4 separate regions of the Homo sapiens genome follow, and all the other regions are linked to region 4. The links are contacts of gene promoters, found by promoter capture Hi-C in human tissues and cell types (Jung and others, 2019). All regions are on one chromosome and are shown on one strand. Each heading gives the region's core, a stretch centred on a gene start or on the middle of the fragment in contact. The rest is flanking DNA. Distances are from core to core; before and after follow the strand shown. Region 1 has its middle 140 kb from the start of LINC02248. Region 2 has its middle 38 kb from the start of LINC00929. Region 3 has its middle 75 kb from the start of LINC00929. Region 4 holds the start of GABRA5 (gamma-aminobutyric acid type A receptor subunit alpha5).

The links. Contacts are between HindIII fragments. The study calls those that stand out against the background at their distance.
Region 1: a fragment that was not itself captured here is called in contact with the fragment with the promoter of GABRA5 in region 4 in 1 of the 25 tissues and cell types used here (H1 embryonic stem cells).
Region 2: a fragment that was not itself captured here is called in contact with the fragment with the promoter of GABRA5 in region 4 in 2 of the 25 tissues and cell types used here (H1 embryonic stem cells and dorsolateral prefrontal cortex).
Region 3: a fragment that was not itself captured here is called in contact with the fragment with the promoter of GABRA5 in region 4 in 1 of the 25 tissues and cell types used here (dorsolateral prefrontal cortex).

Annotation. Positions count from the first base shown.
Region 1 is chr15:26,253,834-26,257,097 of GRCh38, forward strand. No RefSeq gene overlaps it. Among named protein-coding and RNA genes, the nearest start is that of LINC02248, 140 kb to the right of the region's middle. The HindIII fragment of the contact is 7,226 bases long and covers 1-3,264 here.
Region 2 is chr15:26,152,636-26,155,849 of GRCh38, forward strand. No RefSeq gene overlaps it. Among named protein-coding and RNA genes, the nearest start is that of LINC00929, 38 kb to the left of the region's middle. The HindIII fragment of the contact is 4,239 bases long and covers 1-3,214 here.
Region 3 is chr15:26,188,761-26,192,135 of GRCh38, forward strand. No RefSeq gene overlaps it. Among named protein-coding and RNA genes, the nearest start is that of LINC00929, 75 kb to the left of the region's middle. The HindIII fragment of the contact is 3,638 bases long and covers 1-3,265 here.
Region 4 is chr15:26,865,349-26,868,544 of GRCh38, forward strand. It overlaps GABRA5 (gamma-aminobutyric acid type A receptor subunit alpha5), which reads left to right and starts at 1,714. Exons shown (of 11, transcript NM_000810.4): 1 at 1,714-1,763. The HindIII fragment of the contact is 20,920 bases long and covers 1-3,196 here.

The DNA of each region.
Region 1 (3,264 bases), core at 687-3,186, 610 kb before region 4:
CCTCAGCCTCCCAAATAGCTGGGACTACAGGTGCCCACCACCACGCCCTGCTAATTTTTTTGTATTTTTAGTAGAGACAGGGTTTCACCGTGTTAGCCAGGATGGTCTCGATCTCCTGACCTCATGATCCGCCTGCCTCAGCCTCCCAAAGAACTGGGATTACAGGCATGCACCACCCACCCAGCTAATTTTTAGTATTTAGTAGAGTCAGGGTTTCACCATGTTGGTCAGGTGTTTTCATAAACAGCCTCAAACTGTTTTTGATCATTGTAGTCTTTGTGCCAAAGAACAGCCTGAGGTGTAAACTTAAGGTCTTCTTAGATCTTTTTTGAGCCTGTGCCTTTCTTTGGGCATGTATGGCCACTTTCTTACTTTCCCCATATATGCAATTGCTTTTGAATTACCTAGCATTTAATGTCTGGCTCCTAAAAAGGCAGGGTGGGGGTGCTGGGGTGGGGATTAGTACGGGCCCTTTAAAGGGGAGAGGGAAGTATGCAATCCCTTTAATTCTCTTGGCAGTCACTTTGGCCATAGGAGGAGGGGACTGCAACAATGGCTGTGAAAGAGGAGGGGCTTGCATGGATTGAAGGAGGTGCAACAATAGCAGCCACACACCTCTTTGCACCTCTGTGATGAGAGGCAGCAATCAGCAACCAGAGCGTAGATTTACTGATATTTAGAGGACAGGGTACATTTTGCTCACCCTGGCTCCCACCACTATGTGCCATTGTTCCAGGAACACAATACAGCCAACTGCCACGGGGATGGTAGGGGGCTTGGGTAGCTACCGTACTAAAAGCTGAAATTGGCCAAAATTAAACACATTTATGTGGAAGGTGCGAGTCTTCAGTAGACTCCAGAGTTCCAAAATAGTTACATAAGACACATTCTGTCAGTGCAGTTGTCTCAGTGGGAGACAGAGTCAGTTCTTCCTGCTCCACCATCTTCCCAGAATCCTTCCCCACTTTATGCATCTTTATGTCCCCAAGTATAAACACAGTGCCAGGCACAGAGATGATACTCAGTGCACACTGTCGACTGACTGTAATAAGTGAACAAAGTATTGTGTTGGAGGGACTAGCTATCGCTCCTTAAAATAAAGGAAGCAGCTCTTATTTTATCCATTCAAAAAAATATCCTCTTCAACTCTGCAGTGTGAATGGGAGGGGTCTGGGAACCATGTCTACAGGCACTTTCACAAAACCATGCTCTCTAATGGCCAGGGAAGGGCACAGCCTCCTGGCTTCAAAGTTACCCATTGAGAAGCATAGTTTAACATAAGGCCATGCTTATAAACACAGCATTTACCCTGGGCTCATGTCTATGCTTCGCCTTCTTATGAAATGTGATTACTAGCTAAAAAAATAAAAAATATTCCTGGTTGCTTGATACTGTGTGTCCAAAATGCTGATTCATTTGCTATGTTGAGAGCAAACAATTTCTCTAATTTTACCTCCAAAAGGAATTTCAGGACACAGAGGATCTGTATTTTCAAGTGCATCAGTTGATTATGGGCTCCCCCTGCCTCAGCCTGCCTCTTCTTATATATTTATTTTCATATTTTCTCTTACTTTATTTTATTTTATTTATTTTATTTTTTGAGATGGAGTTGCACTCTTGTTGCCCATGCTTGACGGCAATGGTGCACTCTTGGCTCACTGCAACCTCTGCCTCCCGGGTTCAAGCAGTTCTCATGCCTCAGCCTCCGTAGTGCTGGGATTATAGGCAACCGCCATCATGCCCCCATAATTTTTGTATTTTTAGTAGACGAAGGGTTTTGCCATATTGGCCAGGCTGGTCTCGAAATCCTGACCTCAGGTGATCTACCTGCATCAGCCTCCCAAAGTGCTGGGATTACAAGGCATGAGCCACTGCCCCCAGCCATATTTTCTCCCATTTTAAAAGTAATTGCAATAATGCCCACTCCAGAAATCTGGGTCTTATCATGGCACTATAAATCATTTTGTAATTAATTTGAGTCCATACATTATTCAGATTTCTTTAGTTTCTCCTTAACATCTTTTTCTGTTCCAGGATTCCATCCAGGATCCTACATTGCATTTAGTCGTTTTCTCAGGCTCCTCTTGGCTACAGTGTCTTGCTTTTGATGGGCTTGACAGTTTTGAGATGTATTGGCTATTTTGTAGAATTTTCCTTAGTTTGAGTTTGTCAGGTATTTTTCCCATTGAGTTTATGGGTTCTTGGGAAGAAGACCATGGAGGGAAAGTGCCATATTAATTATATCATATCAGAGGTGCATACAATCAACATCACTGCGGATGCTCACTTTGATCATCTGGCTGAAGCAGTAGACATCAGATTTCTCCACTGTAAAATTACTTTGTTTTCCCTCTTCCTATGCTGTGCTCTTTGGAAGGAAATTATTTTGGAAATCACTTTGGAAAGAAGCCCACACTTAAGGCTGTGGAGCTATGCTTCACCTCTTGGAGGAAATAATAGCTACATAAAATTATTTGGAATTCTTTTACATGGAGAATTGCCTATTCTCCCCTACTTATTTGTGTATGCAATCATGTATTTATACCAGTATGCACTCATGGATATTTATTTTATGCTCCAGGTTATAATCCAGTACAATGTTACTTATTTTATTTCTCAAATTGTTCCAGCTTTGGCCATTGGGAGCTCTTTCAGTTGGCTCTTGTGTCCCCTTCATAAGCCCATCGTTTGATTTTTGAGCACTTGTTTGCTTTCTGATACTATAAGATGCTCTAGGCTCATATTGTATATTCCCTGCCCCAACCCTAGAATCAGCCATTTCTTCATGGCACCCTGATTCCGTGTATTGAAGTATGGTGTAAGGAACCAGTGTCTGGGCACTGGGTTTGCTTATTGCCTCCGGGGTGAAGCATTTTGCAGGAATGTTGTTTCATTCAAAATATCTTTCCAAATAGTATTTGTTTTCAATAAACTCAAATTATAAGAGGTGTATTTCTCTCAAGTCTTTTAGAACTTTAGATTTTCCAACTTTACCACTACTTAAGTTAATAAGATAATTTTTCTTTTGTTTTGTAAATTAATATCATTATTCATCTCTCCTAAACATGTACATGGAACTCCAAAGGCATGGTTGAGGTCCAATTTTTACTTTTCTAAATTTCAGTTTTATTTCTTCTTTTTTCCTTTCTTTCTTTCTTTTTTTTTTTTAAAGACAGCATCTCGCTCAGTTGCCCAGGGTGGAATTCAGTGGCATGATCATAGCTCACTGCAGCCTCCAATTCCTTGGCTCAAGCAGTCTTTCTG
Region 2 (3,214 bases), core at 347-2,846, 710 kb before region 4:
ATCTGGTCCTGGGCTTTTTTCTTTTTTTTTTTGGTAGGCTATTAATTACTGCCTCAATTTAAGAAATAGTTATTGATCTATTCAGGTATTCTACTTCTTCCTGGTTTGGTCTTTGGAGGGTGCATGTGTCCAGGAATTTATCCTTTTCTTCTAGTTTGTTTGCATAGAGGTGTTTACAGTATTCTCTAATAGTAGTTTGTATTTTTGTGGAGTCAGTGGTGATATCCCCTTTATCATTTTTTATTGTGTCTATTTGATTCTTCTCTCTTTTTTTCTTTATTAGTCTAGCTAATAGTCTATCTATTTCATTAATTTTTTCAAAAAACCAGCTCCTGGATTCATGGATTTTTTGAAGGGCTTTTCGTGTCTCTATCTCCTTCACTTCCACTCTGATCTTAGCTATTTCTTGTCTTCTGCTAGCTTTTGGATTTGTTTGCTCTTGCTTCTCTAGTTCTTTTAATTGTGATGTTAGGGTGTCGATTTGAGATATTTCTAGCTTTCTGATGTGGGCATTTAGTGCTATAAATTTCCCTCTTAACACTGCTTTAGCTGTGTCTCAGAGCTGTGTCTCTTTGCTCTCATTTGTTTCAAAGAACTTCTTGATTTCTGCCTTAATTTCATTATTTACCCAGGAGTCATTCAGGAGCAGGTTGTTCAATTTCTTTGTACTTGTGTCGTATTGAGTTTCTGAATCCTGAGTTTAATTTGATTGCACTGTGGTCTGAAAGACTATTTGTTATGATTTCAGTTTTTTTGCATTTGCTGAGTGAGGAGTGTTTTACTTTCAATTATGTGGTCGATCTTAGAATAAGTGCCATGTGGCACTGAGAAGAATGTATATTCTGTTGATTTGGGATGGAAAGTTTTGTAGATGTCTATTAGGTCCACTTGATCCAGAGCTGAGTTCGAGTCCTGGATATCCTTGTTAATTTTCTGTCTTGTTGATCTGCCTAATATTGACAGTGGGGTGTTAAAGTCCCTCACTATTATTTTGTGGGAGTCTTTGTAGGTCTCTAAGAATTTGTTTTATGAATCTGGGTGCTCTTGTATTGGGTGCATATATATTTAGGATAGTTAGCTTGTTGCACTGATCCCTTTACCATTATGTAATGCCCTTCTTTATCTTTTTTGGTCTTTGTTGGTTTAAAGTCTGTTTTGTCAGAGACTAGGATTGCAACCCCTGCTTTTTTTTTTTTTGCTCTCCATTTGCTTGGTAAGTTTTCCTCCAACCCTTTATTTTAAGCTTGTGTATGTTTTTGCACGTGAGTTGGGTCTCTTGAATACAGCACACCCATGGGTCTTGAATCTTCATCTAATTTGCCAGTCTGTGTCTTTTAATTGGGGGCATTTAGCCCATTTACATTTAAGGTTAATACCGTTATGTATAAATTTATCCTGTCATCATGATGCTATCTGGTTATTTTGCACACTAGTTGATGCAGTTTCTTCATGGTGTCATTGGTCTTTATATTTTGGTGTGTTTTTGCAGTGGCTGGTACCCGTTTTTCCTTTCCATATTTAGTGCTTCCTTCAGGAGCTCTTGCAAGACAAGCCTGATGGTGACAAAGTCCCTCAGCATTTGCTTATCTGAAAAGGATTTTATTTTTCCTTTGCTTATGAAGCTTAGTTTGCCTGGATATGAAATTCTGGGTTGAAAATTCTTTTTTTTAAGAATATTGAATATTGGCCTCCACTCTGTTCTGGCTTGTAGGGTTTCTGCTGAGAGATCTGCTGTTAGTCTCATGGGCTTCCCTTTGTAGGTGACCTGATCTTTCTCTCTGGTTGCTCTTAACATTTTTGCCTTCATTTCAACCTTGGAGAAGCTGATGATTATGTGTCTTGGGTTGATCTTCTTGTGGAGTATCTTAGTGGTATTCTCTGTATTTCCTGAATTTGAATGTTGGCCTGCCTTGCTAGGTTGGGGAAGTTCTCCTGGATAATATCCCGAAATGTGTTTTCCAACTTGGTTCCATTCTCCCCATCTCTTTCTGGTACTCCAATCAATTGTAGATTTGGTCTTTTTACATAGTCCCATATTTCTTGGAGGTTTTGTACATTCCTTTTCATTCTTTTTTCTCTAATCCTGTTTGCCTGCTTATTTCAGCAAGATGGTCTTCAATCTCCAATATTCTTTCTTCTGCTTGATTGATTTAGCTATTGATACTTGTGTATGTTTCACAAAGTTCTCATGCTGGGTTTTTCAGCTCCATCAGATCATTTATGTTCCTCTCTAAGCTGGTTATTATAGTTAGCTGCTCCTGTAACCTTGTATCAAGGTTCTTAGCTTCTTTGCATTGAGTTAGAACACGCTCCTTTACTGCAGCAGAGTTTTTTATTATCCATCTTCTGAAGCCTATGTCTGTAAATTCATCCATCTCATTCTCTGTTCAATTCTGTGCCCTTGCTGGAGAGGTGGTGCAATCATTTGGAGGAGAAGAGGCACTCTGGCCTTTTGGGTTTTCAGCATTTTTTTTCATTGATTCTTTCTCATCTTCATGGGTTTATCTAGTTTTGAACTTTGAGGCTGCTGATCCTTAGATGAGGTTTTGTGGGGACTTTTTTGTTGACACTGTTGTTGTTGCTTTCTGTTTGTTTGTTTTTCTTTCAATAGTCAGATCTCTCTTCTGTAGGATTGCTGTGGTTTGCTGGGGGTTCCCTTCAGGCCCTATTCATCTGGTTCACTCCTGCACCTGGAGATGACACTCAAGGAGGCTGAAGAATAGCAAAGATGGCTGCTTGCTCCTTCATCTGGGATTTCTGACCTCAAGGGGCACCAACTTGATGCCAGCAGGAATGCTCCTGTATAGGGTGTCTGACAACTCCTGTTGGAGGATCTCACCCAGTTGGGTGGCAAGGGGAGCAGGACCAGTTTAACAAAGCACTTTGGCTGCCCCTTGATGGAGGGGGTGGCTATGCTGGGGGGAAACCCACTCTTTTGCACTGCCCAGATTCCTCGGAACTAGCAGGAGGAAAGACTAAGTCTGCTGGTTTGTGGAGACTACAGCCACCATGCCCACTAGGGGCTCAGGCCCAGGGAGCTCAGAGTTCTGTCTCTGAGCCCCTGGCTGGAGTTGCTGGAGTTCCTGTAGGGAGGCCCTTCCCAGTGAGGAGGGATGGGTCAAGGTCAGGCCTGAAGAGGCACTCTGACTGTAATCTGCCACAGCCGGTGTGTTGGGCTGTGGGGAATACCTCTTGGGACTGAGATGTCCAGCCT
Region 3 (3,375 bases), core at 197-2,696, 680 kb before region 4:
AAATTACATGGGCTCGGGGTGTAATCATTGGATTATTAGGTTTGCCTTTGCTTCTGTCAGATGTGCTTACATATGACAGTCAGGCCAAAGTCACTGGCTTCGTATAAACAAATCTTCTTTTTCCACAATGATTTCTCAAATCCTCATTATTCTTGCTAGCAGATATCTTTTTCACTTGAAAGATGAAAAGATCTTTCCTAATCTGTAAGAAAAACAAATCCAAACACAACCACTTTTTATAAATTTTGGGGAGGAAGACATACTGCTGACAATATTACAAGAAGGCTTTGAGTTGCCAGGAAAATATCAGGCTTGAAGCTTGTGACAGAGAGGAGGAGAATTGTGTCTAAGTCTTAAGCTTTATGCCATAGATCCCCCAATTACACTAGAAATTGACTAGAAGGCAGTTCATTATTACAGTAATTTGGATAGTAAATGCATCATCAAATTTTTCATTTAGAAAAGATCATGATGATTATTTTTAAAAATTACCCCTTGTATAATGTAAGCCTGAGAAAGTTTACAAAGTACTAATAAGGCCTACCTTTTGGCTCTTGGAAGCATCTTGTCATCGGTCCATATTTGGAAACAGCTGTCACTCATGTGCTCCTGCCACCACCCCCAGGAGCCCAAGGGTCCCTGTCACTATGTGTCCCTCTTCGTTTCTTCCTGTGTTTCCCAAACTAGAGCTCAGAACAAAGCAGGCACAGCTCTGGGCCTGAAAACTTCTGTCTGACTCGACCTTTTCCCTGTGGACCTCTCTGGGGACTTTGTTCTTCTCAGACATCAATTCCAGAAGGATCGTTGGGCTATTAGAATTAATTAATATAATTTTATAATTAACTTTTATAATATTAAGCTCTTAATTATCCTGTAAGCAGCAATTACAGAACCCATGGTTCTTCTGCCACCACCTCCGTGACTTATATGTGGAAATCAGCGTTTTCACAGGAAGTTCTGCTACTTTATGGAGAACCCACTGTCCGTGAGGTGGTTGGACATTGCATTTCATTAAAGGGATAGGGAGGGAGGGAGTGGGACTTTTAACCCTGAAGGCTTGGCTCCATGATGATTGTTACGGTAACTCATGAGTCCTACTTGGTCAACAGTGTCCAAACCAGCATTTCATTCATTGGTCCCAAATTCTGACCCCAAATCTGTGTTTTTTTGCCTCCTTGCATGACGGTCTGCAGTAGATTGACATTGAAGTGGTTGTTAAAGGTTTTGGGAACCCTTGCATCATCTTCTGCTTTCACTGATACGAGTGCAGGGTGGGCTGCATCTCAGGGCAGGACACATGGTACCTCAGCCCTCCCATGACTCCCTCATTCACTCTGTGCTGGAGGTGGGGTGCTGGGAGGTTATCTGGCTCTTCTCTGCAGAAGAATGGGCCAGGAATTCTCAGCATGGGTCTTGTCCTCTCATTTCCTCCTAGGAGAGAGCTCCTGGTGGGGGGCAGCTGTTTTCCTCCTCTCTTGCCCTTGGGAATGACTGGAGACTTGTGTGCCTCATTCTAGGATGTGGGTTGAAAAGTCCTTGTACCCTCAGATTTAAGCCACGTTCCTTGATACTTTGCATTTTTTCTGTTAACAGTGGAACTTTGGTTCAGAAATTGAGTGAATAAGAGGGACATCTTGGCTGCCCAGACCCCGGTTTTCCCACTGTCAGTCAGCATTAGAGACTGTCTTTGTGGAAGCAGAACCACAGACCAGCCCTATGGTGTGGGAGCCAGGACACCTGTGCCATGCACCTACACTCCACAGCAAAGATGGACTTATATGGTAATAGCATGTAATATTTCATAATACGTTATTATTCTATGTCTTCATCTAGAAATTATCAAAAGAGTATTGGTTTCTCTCTCTTCTTTTTATTTTATTTTTTTTGAGACAGAGTCTCATTCTGTTGTCCGGGCTGGAGTGCAGTGGCATGATCTCTGCTCACTGCAACCTCCACCTCCTGGATTCAGGCAATTCTCGTGCCTCAGCCTCCCGAGTAGCTGGGATTACAGGCATGCACCAACACACATGGTTAATTTTTTTTTTTTTTTTTTTTTTTGTAGAGATGGGGTTTTGCCATGTTGGCCAGGCTGGTCTCAAACTTTTGACCTCAGATGATCCACTCACCTTGGCCTCCCAAAGTGCTGGGATTACAGGAGTGAGCCATCACGCCTGGCCTGGTCTCTCTGTTTTTGTACCATATACCCTGTTTCCAACCACAGTCTAAAATCCTGAAGGACAATAACTGTGTCTCATGCCTCTTTGTGTCCTCCCCAGATCTTAAAATGATGCCTTAACCATAGCAGGCATTTGTTCAATGTTTGGTGATGATTTTCAACCTGGGGTACAGGTATAGGTCTATGAAGACTTATTAATAAATGAAATGATATTTGTGTATGTGTCATTTATCTCCCAATTTGCAAATTGGCTCCAGAGGCTGAGAGGTCTGCTTTAAAAGGTGAATATTTATTGTTGTCATATCACTTTACCAAGATAATTGCTTTCAGATGTCCCACATGTAGTTCGCTCTCTTCCCCAGTAGCCACTCAGAGCCATCACAGCAGAAATGCCAGCTATGGTCTAGGAAACACTCAATAGTGAGTGTGACTCACTATTATAAATTATGCAGAGACACTCACCCTCCCTTTGGCCACTCGTTTTCCATTTGCAACTCTGCCCTTGAAGCCACCTCTCTGAACCTCTGCCAATCAAAGGCCAGCCACTGGGAGCCTCACACTGATGACTATTTGCTTATTATAGTGCACTCTAATTATTAACATGAGCCACACAAAAATGTCTATTTTTGACCCACAAAAGCTTATTTCATAGTATTGAACTATTAGTAATTCAGAGGCTGTCCATGCCAGGAGATGATGTAGTCTGTCTGCAGCAATACCTCCCTTCATGAGACAGGTGGTTAATCCATCATCCCTCGTGCCAAATTCCTCTTTCCACCGAGTTATGAGAAGTGATCATTGGTCTCATCAGCTCTTCCTGTTTGCTGTAATTCCTAATTTTTTGGTATCTATTTAGATGACTCCTGGTCCATTCTGTGTCCATCCTTTCCTGTTTATTATAGAAGAGGAGACATTAATATGCTTTAAACATTTTCTCCATAGGCAGAAAAGAACAAGACTGTATATAGAGAAATGCACAGCCAAATCTCTACAGCTGGATACACACAATAGAGGAAACAGTCATAAAACATATGTTGGGGTTTTAATCAATGTGTGCTTGATAACAAGGTCCTAAACTCAGGCATCGTGTTCAGTGCTAATACCTATGTCTCCGAAGCAATTTTAATTCAAACCTTGCACTGGTGAATGAAGTGTAAACAGAAGGGAAATTGGTATGTATACAGTTGACCATCATTATT
Region 4 (3,196 bases), core at 464-2,963:
AAGTGGAAGTTTTAAACATAATCCATCAAAAGAACATATTTCCTTACAGCTGACATTTCTTTTATTATTAAGAATTAATGTCTATAACCCTCGCTAATACAAAAATCATCCCTTGTTTATATACATTTATTTTTGCAAACTCACACCGAATGACTTTGTGTGACAAGCTGTGAAGTTTAAAATTTACCAATTCTTCCAACTCTTTGATTTGCATTATGCTGTTTAATCCTGAGAGAAGAGCAGCTGTCGCTGGTATTAGGTGTTAGAATTCCAACACCTAATAGGTGAAAATTATATTAGGCTGATCATAAAACCATGTTGTTAACTTTTTAAAATTTAATGTCTCCCAAGGAATTTCACCCTAGTGGTACATCTTTTGGGAAATTAGAAAATGAAGAAATGCATACGTTCAGTGATCCATTTTAGAATTAGAAAATTCAAATTAGCATCTTATTTCATTCATATTTCCTGAAGAACCACTGGAAACAGTTATTTAATAGTGTGGCTAAATGTATATTCAGAGAAACACTTCCTGTATATTTGCACATTTATGTATATTTATGTCCTATTCCTGGAATAGATTTACAAGTTTTGTTTTTCAGAAAATTTCAGAATTTCTGGAATGTGCAGAAGTATTAACAGGTAACTTAGATTTGGAATACACTGTATTAGAGATAACTGGAAAAATGAGAGGCTTCCTACACTGGAAGGTCAAAGATCTTTCCTGGAGGGGAGTTAGGAATTTGCCTTTACTTACCATTATTCTGTTAAAAGAGATTATGAATAATGCAGTTTCACAAAAGGAATGGGACAATGGTGTAAGTAAACCTCCCCATCACGTTTTCAGTGGCTTTCCTTTGAGTCTTGAACGTTTTCCACTGGGTGTTATAGTCGAGAGTCCCCCACCTCCTGAGGAAGCAAGACCTGGCAAACCCAAGACGATGCGCTCTTACTTGTGTTGTTTGAAGGGGCCCTGCTGCCGCGCAGTTGTCATTAATGCCACCCTCACCTCCCAGGAACTGCACCACTAGGACGGACGACACACCGACGTAATGACCATAGTAAGACCCCATGTACGTGGCTAATGAGGCAGTGACCCGACGTGGCTCGGAAGCCCTGCTGGGGAGATCCCGCCCCGTCACCCCAGAGGCGCTCTCCGACCTGCAGCCCCCAGGGCTCCTGGCCCTTTCCCGTTTGCCACTGCGGCTTGTTGTCAAGAAATGGAACTTCAGAAAACCCCCAGATATACACTGCGTTAGGTAAGGATTTCATTCTAATCGAGTCCAATGTGACCCTGGCTTTCCCTCCCGTAGTTATGCATTCCTGTCTATGAGTGAGATGAAAAGAATGTCCACAGGCCAGCTTCTTTCAGAAGCGCCTAAGAGATGCGCATGTAAGGGGTGCCATGGAGCACCCGGGAAGGACCCAGGCCTGGGCAGGGAGGCGTTGGGGCCGGCTCTAGGGAGCAAAGCTGTCGGAGTCCAGGCCTCTATCACCCGACTGCTGACACTGCCCTCCCATCCCTGCTCTACAAGCGGGCGGTGGTGACTACACGAGGCGCCGAAGATGCTGTTGAGGGCCCTGGAGAAACTTCAGCAGAACAGGGCCTCTCCCCTTGCAGGCCGAGCCGGGGGCCCTGCGCCCTCCCCCTCCGCCCAGCTCGGCCAAGGGCGCATTTGCTGAGCGTCTGGCGGCCTCTACCGGAGCACCTCTGCAGAGGGCCGATCCTCCAGCCCAGAGACGACATGTGGCGCTCGGGCGAGGTGAGAGCGGGCGCGAGTGCGCCGGGGGCGCTGGGGGGCTCTGCGGCGGGCGGCGCGCGGCCCGGGGCGCGGCGCGGAGCGGAGCTGCAGGGCGGCGGCGGGAGCGCGGGGCGCAAGAGCCGCTCCGCCGGGAGTGCCGGGGAAGTTCGCGCTGGCAGCATGGGGCGGTGACGCCGCACCGGCCTTCCGCGCCTGCCAGCCGGGCGAGAGCAGGCGGAGGAGAAGGAGGATGCATCCTCACCGACGGCTCGCCTCCCGGGGCCGGCGCGCAGGGTGAGCCCTGGGCGCGCTGGGCCGGGGCAGTGGGGTAAGAGGACGCGAGCGGGGAAGAGGACCGGCCGCCCCGGCTCGGTCCGCACCCTTCTCCTCGGGGCGCCTGAGCGGCAGGCTGCGTGGCCGGGGAGGAGAGGTGCAGAGCAGGCGGGGCGCGCAGCCAGGCCAGAGCGCAAACTTTACCCTGGCGACTGCGGGGCTGAAGCCGGGCGCGGGAGAGAGCGGGGTCCGGGCGGCTCATCCCTGCCGGACGGGGCACCAGGGCGCGGTGACCGGTTGGGGGTGGGGGACACCCGTTGCCACCATCACGGGAGCCGGAGGGGTGAGATCGCCCACCTGGAAAGCCAGCGTCAGCCCCGGGGCTCTGAGGCGCGCGGCGTCCCGGCGCTGCTCGCGGGGTGGACTCGGACCCCGCGGGGGTGTCGCGCGCGTGTCGCGCGGGCTGCTCGAGGCCAGGGGACTTGGAGTCGCTGCTGCACCGCGCGCTCCCAGCCCAGGAGGAAGGCGCTGCCTGGCGGAGCGCTTGGCTCGTACCCGGGGCAGGAGCAGGGGAAGTCTGCGAAAGCCGGGAGCGAGCCGGGGAGGGCCGGGGAGCTGGAGACCCTCGGCGTGCCGCTGCGGACCGCGCGGGTGGCGACCGCGGGTGCCAGGGCGACCCAGGCTGCGGCTCCGCAGTGCAGCCCCCGCGCCCACCTGCCCTGGCGCGCCGGCCCTGGTGAGCCTCTGTGGGGGTCCGGAGGGTCGTGGGAGCGCAGCCTCTCCTGGGGGTCCCTGGCTCGGGGCTGAGGGGCGGCGGGAGGCGCCGCCCGGGTTTCCCGCATGCAGCGCCGCGTGCTCGCCGCCTGGCTCTGGCCCGGGCCCCGCGACGAGCCCCCCGGACGCGCCCAGGCGACCACCGCATGGCACCCTGCCCTTCTTGGCAGGAGTCGCAGAAGGCCTTCGCTTCCGAGGTGGAAGTACCTGTTGTGTCTCCCAATTCCGGAGTTTGCGGGGGATGGGGGTTGGGGGGGCTTCTTGGGAAAATGCTTCTTTTCGAAGCATACTGTTCGGATGCCTGTGAGCACCTATTTGCGTTATGCGCATACTGAGAAATGCGTGTTTTCAGGAAGGTTAGTCGTTGAGCCCAGGGACAATGTCTGCCTGGATCTCAAATACATTAA